2 separate regions of the Homo sapiens genome follow, and region 1 is linked to region 2. The links are contacts of gene promoters, found by promoter capture Hi-C in blood cells and fetal thymus (Javierre and others, 2016). All regions are on one chromosome and are shown on one strand. The core of a region is centred on a gene start or on the middle of the fragment in contact, and the rest is flanking DNA. Distances in the headings are between cores, read along the strand shown. Region 1 holds the start of DENND4B (DENN domain containing 4B). Region 2 holds the start of SHC1 (SHC adaptor protein 1).

Region 1 (4,756 bases), core at 397-2,896, 1.0 Mb after region 2:
ACATGGGGTCCTCACCTGTCTCTTCTACCCACAGGGGACTCCTCTCCAGGTTTCTCTAAGGAGATTGCAGCAGCCCTGGCCGGAGTGCCTGGCTTTGAGGTGTCAGCAGCTGGATTGGAGCTAGGGCTTGGGCTAGAAGATGAGCTGCGCATGGAGCCACTGGGCCTGGAAGGGCTAAACATGCTGAGTGACCCCTGTGCCCTGCTGCCTGATCCTGCTGTGGAGGAGTCATTCCGCAGTGACCGGCTCCAATGAGGGCACCTCATCACCATCCCTCTTCTTGGCCCCATCCCCCACCACCATTCCTTTCCTCCCTTCCCCCTGGCAGGTAGAGACTCTACTCTCTGTCCCCAGATCCTCTTTCTAGCATGAATGAAGGATGCCAAGAATGAGAAAAAGCAAGGGGTTTGTCCAGGTGGCCCCTGAATTCTGCGCAAGGGATGGGCCTGGGGGAACTCAAGGGAGGGCCTAAAGCACTTGTAACTTTGAACCGTCTGTCTGGAGGTCAGAGCCTGTTGGAAAGCAGGGGTAGAGGGGAGCCCTGGAAGCAGGGCTTTTCCGGATGCCTAGGGGTGGGCAGTGCCAGCCCCTCCTCACCACTCTTCCCCTTGCAGTGGAGGAGAGAGCCAGAGTGGATACTATTTTTTATTAAATATATTATTATATGTTAATAAAAAAATCATATCAAACCCTTGGTGTGGTTAGTTATTTGGGGCATGGCTGGGGATCTAGGGAGTTATAGGGCCATGGGTCTTTTTATCTATTAGGCTTTTTGCATCTTCTTAGCACCACTGTGCTTTGTGGAAGGGCCCCACAGCCTCGGAATTTGTACCCAGCTGGATGTAGGCTTCCACGGCAGCAGGAAATCACTTCATGTGCCCTCCTGTCTGTCCAGGGCCCTGCTGCAGCATCAGATGGGGGCTTTGACTGATCAGACAAGTTATTCCTCTTCCTCAACCCTAGGTCTGGCAGTGAGTCGGGTAAGGAGGTGATTGCTGGCTGAGCCCACAGGTCTGAAGTGCTCCTAGGTCTCAGGGAAGCAAGCCTTCATCCTCACTCCCTCACTATGCATGCATTCACTTCACCCTCTCCACTCTTCACCACTCATTCATTTTAGTTTTAATTAAACAGATCCTTCAGTGCCATGCATGTTCTGAAGGTTTTCTCTTTCTGGATTGGGTTGCCAGCCCTTGGACCAGCCGTGTGGGCCTCTGCACCCCTCACTCCCCCAACCCGCATAGTGAGAAAAGTAGAGCCCCGCAGTTACCTTACCCCCACCTCCACTGCTCTATTCCACACCCTGCAGTCCTGGCCTCTCTTCCTCTTTCCAAAGCTCTTGTCATTTTCAAAAAAGAGAACTGAGAGCTTCTGGTTCTGGTCCAAAGGGAATGCCCTGTGCCCTAAACCTGGAAGTAGGGGGAGCCACCTGGGTCCCCGTAGACTAGACCTTCGGGACTTCACCTGCGCCCACATCATGCTTGCCACATCTGACTGCAGGACCCAGGCGGGAAGGGAGCGCGCCGCGGCCCTCTGGGTCGCCTGGGGTCAGTGTCCTGAGGCACGGGCTGGATGGTGGGAAGCTACCTGGGTGCAGGGGGCCCTCCCAGCCGCCAGGGGTCGGGCTGCAGGCGGCTGGGCTTTGGGCAGACGCTTGCCAGGGTCACGGCCGCCGGCCGAGGAGGAGGGGTGGGGGTAGCGGCGGCGCCCGCGGCCCGGAGCGGGGGTTGGGGGAGTAGAGAAAGCGGGGCGCGCGGAGGAACGCTGGGTCCCCGGCGCCGCGGGAGCTGGGAGGACCGAGCCGGCCGAGCGAGCAGCGCGGCAGCACAGTCCCCGCGTGGCGCAGCGCGGCGGGGACGCGGGGACCGCCCGGATCTCCTTCCACTGCGCCCCGCGCTCTGCGGTCCTCGGCCGCCTCTTCTTCCTTCACTCACTGCCCGGGCGGGAGCGGCGCCCAAGTCGGGTGCGCCATGTCTGGGGCCGGGTAGCCCCGCCGCCCGCCGGCCCGCCAGCTCGCCCTCCGAGCCACCCGCCAGCGGGCCGGCCGGCCGGGAAGCGCGGGACAGGCAGGTAGGGGCTGGACCGGGCTGGGCGGCAGGCGGGGACGGGCAGGAGGGAGCGCGGGCGGCAGGCGGGGTGGGGGATGGCCCCCAGCTGCTGTCCCTCACTGCACATCTGGTTCCGGTTCCTCTCTCCTGGGGAAGTGAAAGTGGAGGGGAGGGCACCTCCCGCAATTAGCTCGCCGTGCCCGGCCTCCTGCACCCCCTTCTGCTCCCGTGGGTGCCGGAGTCGGAGCCGCCCTCCCTCCCGCTTGGGTCACGCGGCGGCCGGCGCTGCTGCCGTCACGTCCTCGGCCGCCGGCGCGCCTGCTTCTCTGCCCTCCTGCTCCTTCCTCAGCCTCCTCCCCCTCGGCGCGCCCTCTGCCCCAACCCGAACTTCCCGTCACCCGGCACGCGGGCGTGGGGACCCGGAGTGGGCCCTGTGCCCGTTGTCTTCCCTAGGGAGAAAGGGCTGCTTTCTGCAGGACTCTTCCCTGGCTTGGTGAGGGGAGGCCCCGGTGCGCAGGTCCTGCGGATGGGTGCCACCCACTTGCCCCTCAGAAGGTCCCACCTAATGGCCTCTGCCTGCTGCCTTGGGCATAGGGCTCCCATTCGCCCTCAGTGGATGAGGGACAGGTCTGTGCCCCAGAATTAAATCAAGAGGCTGACGCTGACTCCTGGCTTTACCTCCCAGAAGTGGAGTCTAAATTTAGCTGGGGTTGGTGTGTGTACGTGTGTGCGTGTGTGTGTGCGTGTGTGTGTGTGTGTGTGTGTCCAGAGGCCAGGTGATGAAGAAAGCCAGCCTGGCTCTATGAGATTCCTTATTCCCTGTTCTCTGGGGGAACAGCAGGAGGTTAGCAGGACTGCACATCCTGGAACCATTCTGAGCCTCCTCTGCCTTGCTCAGGATCCTATAGTCTGAGATTCCAACTTGGCGTAATGCTGTGCTGGCACCTTCAATGGTAACCCCACCACCGCCACCGCCACCACACACACCCATAGGCTGACTTCCTCTGAGTTGCAGCTTCCCCTCCACTGTTTCAGGAAGTAACCTCCCTTCCCCTCTGAAGCACCCCCCACGCTTCTGGGCCCCTGCTGCGAGCTACCCACCAGGCTTTTTCCCAGCTTCTGCACCCTGGGGCGCCTCAGGACCCTTGGGGCTCCTACTCCCCGGGGTTGGGCCATGGAGGCAGGTGAGAACTAGGCTGTTGTGGGCCTGTTTCTGTCTCTGGGCTCCATGGTGGAGGGTGTGGGATGGCCGGGACTTGTCTCTCACAACTGCTTTGGATCTAACGAGCTACCTAAGGATCCTGGAGGTGTGAGAACACTGGATTTTGGGCCAGATTGGTGGAGTTAAGCTAGGAGAAAGGACACTTGGGTTCGTTGAAAAGACTCTTAAAGCTTGGGTTTTGTGGGCTTTCTCAGAAACCCATGGGGTCCTCTTAAAAACCTAGGAGTGGGCTCTTTAAGAACATTGGCAGGATCACAAGGTTCTTATGGTGTCATAACTAGAGTAGGAAGGTCAGAAACCCTTGAAAAGACTGTAAGGTTGGTATGATGTCATGGCCAGCATGAATGATGTCATGGAAGGCTATTACAAAAAAGATTGTGATCTCTGTGATGTTATAACTGGTGAGCCTTTAAAAGGGACACATGGACAATGTGAATGTCATAGCTCAGGTTAGCTGTGTGTGGTGGAGTTTAGGTTCTTTGAGGGGAGTGCCAGGACCATTAAGTGGGAGGGATCTGGTCTCTTTAAGAAGCTGTGGTGGGCAGTGATGTCACAGGGGGAAGAGTTCAGGATTGGCCGACCCCTTATCCTGCCTTTCTTTGGAAGGACTAGGAAGAGGAGGGGAGCAAGAGGGTACCCTGGTTGCCATGGCATCCCCAGCCTTCCTTGCTTCATCTCTCTCCCACTTGACCATTCCAGATGCAGTGAGTGAGGGGGGGGCCATGGCGGAGGAGCGGCCCCCCCGGCTGGTGGATTACTTCGTGGTAGCTGGGCTTGCAGGGAACGGAGCACCCATCCCTGAGGAAACGTGGGTTCCTGAACCCAGTGGGCCCCTGCGCCCTCCCCGGCCAGCTGAGCCCATCACAGATGTGGCAGTCATCGCTAGGGCACTGGGCGAGGAAGTGCCCCAGGGCTACACATGCATCCAGGCTTCTGCTGGGGGCCACCCCTTGGAACTCAGTGCTGGACTTCTGGGTGGAACTCAACCCGTCATCTGCTACCGCAGGGGCCGTGACAAGCCCCCCCTCGTTGAGCTGGGGTGTGTGCCCCTACCCATGCTGGCACCAGGGGAGGCTGGGAGGGACTCCAGTGAGACAGGGAGAGGTAGGACTATGGAACAAGGGAAGGGCAATGGGGATGGGAGCCTGGTGGGCCAGGGGCCAGGAAGGAAGGACTGAAGTTGTATGTACTTAGTCCTTACAGATGCGATTTCATGTGCTAGTGCTGCTCCTTGCTAGCTCTGAGAGCTTAGGCAGGTTTTTGAGCTCCTCTGGGCCTGTTTTCCTCATCTGTCAAATGGGGAAAATAATTCATCCTCATAGGATGGTCGAGATTAAATGAGATAACCCATGTGACAGACTTAACAGAGTCAGTCAGTGGTAGCTTGTATAACTATTTTTTTTTTTTTTTTTTTTTTTATAGACAGAGTCTCTCTCTGTCACTCAGGCTGGAGTGCAGTGGTGTGATCTTGGCTCACTGCAACCTTCGC
Region 2 (4,821 bases), core at 1,438-3,937:
GTTCAAGTGATTCTCCTGCCTCAGCCTCCTGAGTAGCTGGGATTACAGGCGCCCACCACCACGCCCGGCTAATTTTTGTATTTTTAGTAGAGACGGGGTTTCCCCATGTTGGCTAGGCTAGCCTCGAACTCCTGACCTCAGGTGCTCCACCCTTATCAGCCTCCTTAAGTGTTAGGATTACAGGCGTTAGCCACTGCGCCCGTCCCCGTTTTCCTCTTTCTTAACCTCCTCCAAGGGTAGAACTATTTGAAAGGGCTGAACGTGGGGTTTGGCACGAGAGGGAGAGAGAGACTTGCCCTCAGACTCCCAGCCTCACTTCCTGGCTTTCCCTTCCCAGGACCAACCTCATCCCAGAAGTAGCTCTAGGCCTTCCTAGACATAAGTGGATAAGACCATGGATTTGTTGGTGTGTGGCATGTGGGTGTGACATGAGCAAAAGTTTTCTACTACCAGAAGAACGGTAGTTTGGAGTGGGGGTAGATAATAGTGCTCTTTTTGTTGTTTGATTTTTTTTTTTTTAAGGGACAGTTCAGTCGCTACTTCTCTGTCTCTTCCCCTCCCCCTAACCAGAGTTCTTGTCTGGGCATTCCTCCTGGCCCCGTTTGCCCAGCCTTCCCTGCTGGAAACATTCCTGAGGCTTTCGCCATTTCCTGCCACTTCCCGCCCCTGTCCCCTCCTCCCAGTTGGGCTGCGAAGCCACACACAGCTTTTCCCCTACACCCAATCACCTGGACTTCCAGTAGGCAATCTCCTTTCTCCCTATGTAAATTTCAAGAGTCATACGTCTTTCTTTTCTTCCGAACGCCCACACCCGTTGGTCCTTCCCTGGCTCTGGATACTGTAGGCTCCCACAGAACATCATCTCTACAGATGAGGGACATCCTAGTGTGTGTTTGTGTGTTTTGGGGGTGTGAGGCTATGGTGGAATCCTTTCCTCATTCTCTCTATGCCCGAGAGCTGGCTGGAAATGAAGTGATAAAATTCCTTCTCAGGATTGGCTGGCAGAGTGACAAAGCTCTTCTGGAATGAGCACTAAGGGGAGATGTAAGAGTTAAGCACAGCATCTAACACACTTCAAGTGTTAATGTTGTTAATCAGGATAATTATCTATCTATATTTTAATTCTCTGAAGTAAATCTAAGGGTAATTCCAAGGTGAGCTGGGGGGAATACGTATTTTTTTTTTTTTGAGACGGAGTTTTGCTCTTGTCACCTAGGCTGGAGTGCAATGGCTCGATCTCGGCTCACTGCAACCTCCGCCTCCTGGGTTCGAGCGATTCTCCTGCCTCAGCCTCCTGAGCTGGGATTACAGGTGCCCGCCACCACGCCCAGCTAATTTTTGTATTTTTAGTAGAGACAGGGTTTCACCATGTTGACCAGGCTGGTCTCGAACTCCTGACTTCAGGTGATCCACCCGCCTCAGCCTCCCAAAGTGCTGGTATCACAGGTGTGAGCCACCGCGCCCGGTAGGAATACGTATCTTTGTTTTTTTTTTTTTGGTCACTTTCCAGCTTTGCCTGTGGCATTCTCCGGAAGAGCAGTGGCAGGAAGCCGTGGGTGGCAGGAATGGGTTTGGGACTGTTCCCTGTGTCCAGCTTCAACCCATCTTCTCCTGACACCCCTTTCTCCTGTACTTATTTTTCTCCTGTCCTTATTGACGCAGATGTGTCTTCTGATCTCTCTGTCCCTTCCTGGCCTGTAGTTTCTACTTCTCTTGGAGAACTGTTTCTTCCACCTCCTCCAGCCAGGCTCCTTCCCTGGTGTGAAGGATGCTGTGCTCTTTGGTGGGGCTTAGGGCCCTGTAAGAGGAGGGATGTGAATTGGGGTGGTTTGGAGTGGGAGTGGGGACCTGATTGCCTCATTCTCACCCTTGACAGTGTGCTGTGTTAACAAGCCCTGTGGAAAGGGGAGACAGGACAGTGCTTGGCTATGAGCCATCGGTCTTGGTGTGGTAGATGGCATACGTAGAGAACAAGCCGTGACCAGCATGTCCTCTTGTTCCCTTCTTGCCTGGTAGCTTCCTGATGTATCATCCAGGTTGAACTTTATTCCCCTTTTTTCACCAGCTTTGCTCTTCCTCTTGGCCCTGCTCTGCATCCATTGGGACCACTTACTTCCCATCCCCACTTCGCTAGCTCCAGTCCACAGCTGCTGTAGCAGAGGATGCTAATGGCCCAGGCTTACTGTATGGGGTAGCGGTTGGGGGTGGCCTGGGCTGGGGCCAGCCAGCTTTCGGGCATAGAGAGGGTGGGGGAATTCGAGTGTCCAACCAGGACAGGAAGGGAAATGCTGAGCTCTGAGATCTCCTCCCTTTTCCACCCCCAGCTGCCTCTGTTTCCTCCCTCATTCCCCTGTACTCCTGCCTGGCTTCCTGCCCCCTTTGGCCTGCGTGTGTCCGGTTTTGAGTGACCCAGACCTCCTATCTCCTTCCTTTCCGTCCCACTCTTCCATCCTTCCCTCCCACCCCCACTTTACTTCTCCCCAGATTACTAGTTGTTTGTATAGGGCAGGGGAGAGGGGCTTGGATAGCCCTACCCCCTGCTCCAGTTCGAGGTTGGGGCGGGGTGGGGGCTCAGCCCCTCTGAGCCTGTGAGTCAGCACTGTCCTCACGATTGGTCTCTCCCCTTAGCTCCCCGCCCCTGGGGAGGAGCCAGAAGCGCTGGGTCCAGCCTGTTCTCTTCTCAGCCAGAGAAGAGGCTCCACGTTGGGCGGGGATGGGGCCTGAAACTGTCTGGGTCTGAGCTGGGGAGCGGAAGCCACTTGTCCCTCTCCCTCCCCAGGACTTCTGTGACTCCTGGGCCACAGAGGTCCAACCAGGCTAAGGGCCTGGGGATACCCCCTGCCTGGCCCCCTTGCCCAAACTGGCAGGGGGGCCAGGCTGGGCAGCAGCCCCTCTTTCACCTCAACTATGGATCTCCTGCCCCCCAAGCCCAAGTACAATCCACTCCGGAATGAGTCTCTGTCATCGCTGGAGGAAGGGGCTTCTGGGTCCACCCCCCCGGAGGAGCTGCCTTCCCCATCAGCTTCATCCCTGGGGCCCATCCTGCCTCCTCTGCCTGGGGACGATAGTCCCACTACCCTGTGCTCCTTCTTCCCCCGGATGAGCAACCTGAGGCTGGCCAACCCGGCTGGGGGGCGCCCAGGGTCTAAGGGGGAGCCAGGAAGGGCAGCTGATGATGGGGAGGGGATCGTAGGGGCAGCCATGCCAGACTCAGGCCCCCTACCCCTCCTCCAGGACATGAACAAGCTGAGTGGAGGCGGCGGGCGCAGGACTCGGGTGGAAGGGGGCCAGCTTGGGGGCGAGGAGTGGACCCGCCACGGGAGCTTTGTCAATAAGCCCACGCGGGGCTGGCTGCATCCCAACGACAAAGTCATGGGACCCGGGGTTTCCTACTTGGTTCGGGTGAGTGAACATCCTCCTCTCCATTCCCCCGCAGACCCCCTCCAGTTCTAATGCTCACTCCAGCTTGGCCGGAATCTCTTTTTTCCTGCTGTTCCCCAACAACCCCGTTTCAGTGTCCTATTTCCTAAACCTTTCTCATCCCTTCCCCGATTCTGTAGCCCCTTCCCTTCCAGCTTTGCCTGGGCCCCCTTCCTTCTTTTCACTCCCCCACCCCCACCCTGGCATGCTTAGCACAATGCCCAGCATGGCAGAAGCTCTTAATAAGTGTTGGAATGAATGACTTCTTGATCTTTCCTCCATTCTCCTCCCGCTTTCTGGAGTTGTCACTCCATCCCAGCCAATGCCTGTCGGTCCCCTCCAAACTCTCTCCCCAGTGTGTGAGGTCCTTCTAGCCTGCCTTTTCTTTTTCTCCTCATTCCCTGTTGTCTTTCACCTTGGTTGTGGGATGTAGCCACGGGAAGTGGGCAGAACTTCTTCCTCTTTACTTCCCTTAGGGACCATATGGGTAAAGTCCTAGGGCCCTTTGTGAAGGGGCTGGGGTGGGGGAGCCGCTGACCTGCTGTCCTCTTCTCCCTCCCCTTAGTACATGGGTTGTGTGGAGGTCCTCCAGTCAATGCGTGCCCTGGACTTCAACACCCGGACTCAGGTCACCAGGTTAGTGGGGAGGGAGTGGATTGTGGGAGTCCTGGGATTAGTGAGGCCATGGGAAACAGAGGAGGGGAGTGGGTCACTTGGGTGCTGCTGCTGGGGGCTGATCTTTGCGTAGTAAAGGGGATTGAGAGAAAGCTGAGGTAGTGATTCCGCCTCTTACTGAAAGGAGGCCCCTTTGGCCCGGATCCTCCTTACCTATCCAGCCTTGGGAGTTGTGGGGAAGGTGGCAGAAGCAGCTGGCAGGTGGAGCTGGAGTAGAAAAGGGGGGTAGATGGAAGGTTGCTGCTGCCTTTGGGAAGGGAATGGGACATTTGGTAGCTGGAAGGGGGTGGGGCTATACCCATTGAGGCCCTAACCCAATCAGCCAGGAAGTGGCCTCTCAGTGTCATCAAATATTAAAGGCCCTTAATTCAATCCACCATGACAAAGAGCCTGGAGTGCCCTGGGAGTCTGGCCTGGCTTTCCCCTCCCCCAGCCCTGTGGCAGCCCCAGTTGAGTGGGAGGCAGGCAGGCAGGCGCTGGGTCTGAGTACCCCTCTTTCCCCAGGGAGGCCATCAGTCTGGTGTGTGAGGCTGTGCCGGGTGCTAAGGGGGCGACAAGGAGGAGAAAGGTACTTGGGGTCCTTGGGGATAGGGATGCTGCTGGGAAATGTGGAGGGGCAGTGGGGAGGCAAGTGTGGGGCATGTGGGGAGAGGGCCAGGAGGCAAAAGTGTGGTTTGCCTGTGCTGGGAACCCTCACCTTCTGAGACCCTGGGCCCTACCTTAGCC

The links. Contacts are between HindIII fragments. The CHiCAGO score rates a contact against its expected background, and 5 or more counts as called.
Region 1: a contact is called between the fragment with the promoter of DENND4B here and the fragment with the promoter of SHC1 in region 2, in 1 of 17 cell types (total CD4 T cells). The highest score is 5.3, in total CD4 T cells.

Annotation. Positions count from the first base shown.
Region 1 is chr1:153,943,608-153,948,363 of GRCh38, reverse strand. It overlaps DENND4B (DENN domain containing 4B), which reads left to right and starts at 1,646. Exons shown (of 28, transcript NM_014856.3): 1 at 1,646-2,063; 2 at 3,967-4,306. The coding sequence starts at 3,990. It overlaps CRTC2 (CREB regulated transcription coactivator 2), which reads left to right. Exons shown (of 14, transcript NM_181715.3): 14 at 35-689. The coding sequence ends at 255. RefSeq lists enhancers at 1,075-1,144, 1,956-2,456, 2,925-2,974, 3,295-3,394 and a silencer at 1,535-2,434. The HindIII fragment of the contact is 4,483 bases long and covers 1-3,439 here.
Region 2 is chr1:154,968,613-154,973,433 of GRCh38, reverse strand. It overlaps SHC1 (SHC adaptor protein 1), which reads left to right and starts at 2,687. Exons shown (of 12, transcript NM_001130040.2): 1 at 2,687-3,402; 2 at 3,986-4,056; 3 at 4,600-4,663; 4 at 4,820-4,821. The coding sequence starts at 2,908. RefSeq lists enhancers at 2,809-3,359, 3,360-3,910. The HindIII fragment of the contact is 11,130 bases long and covers 1-4,821 here.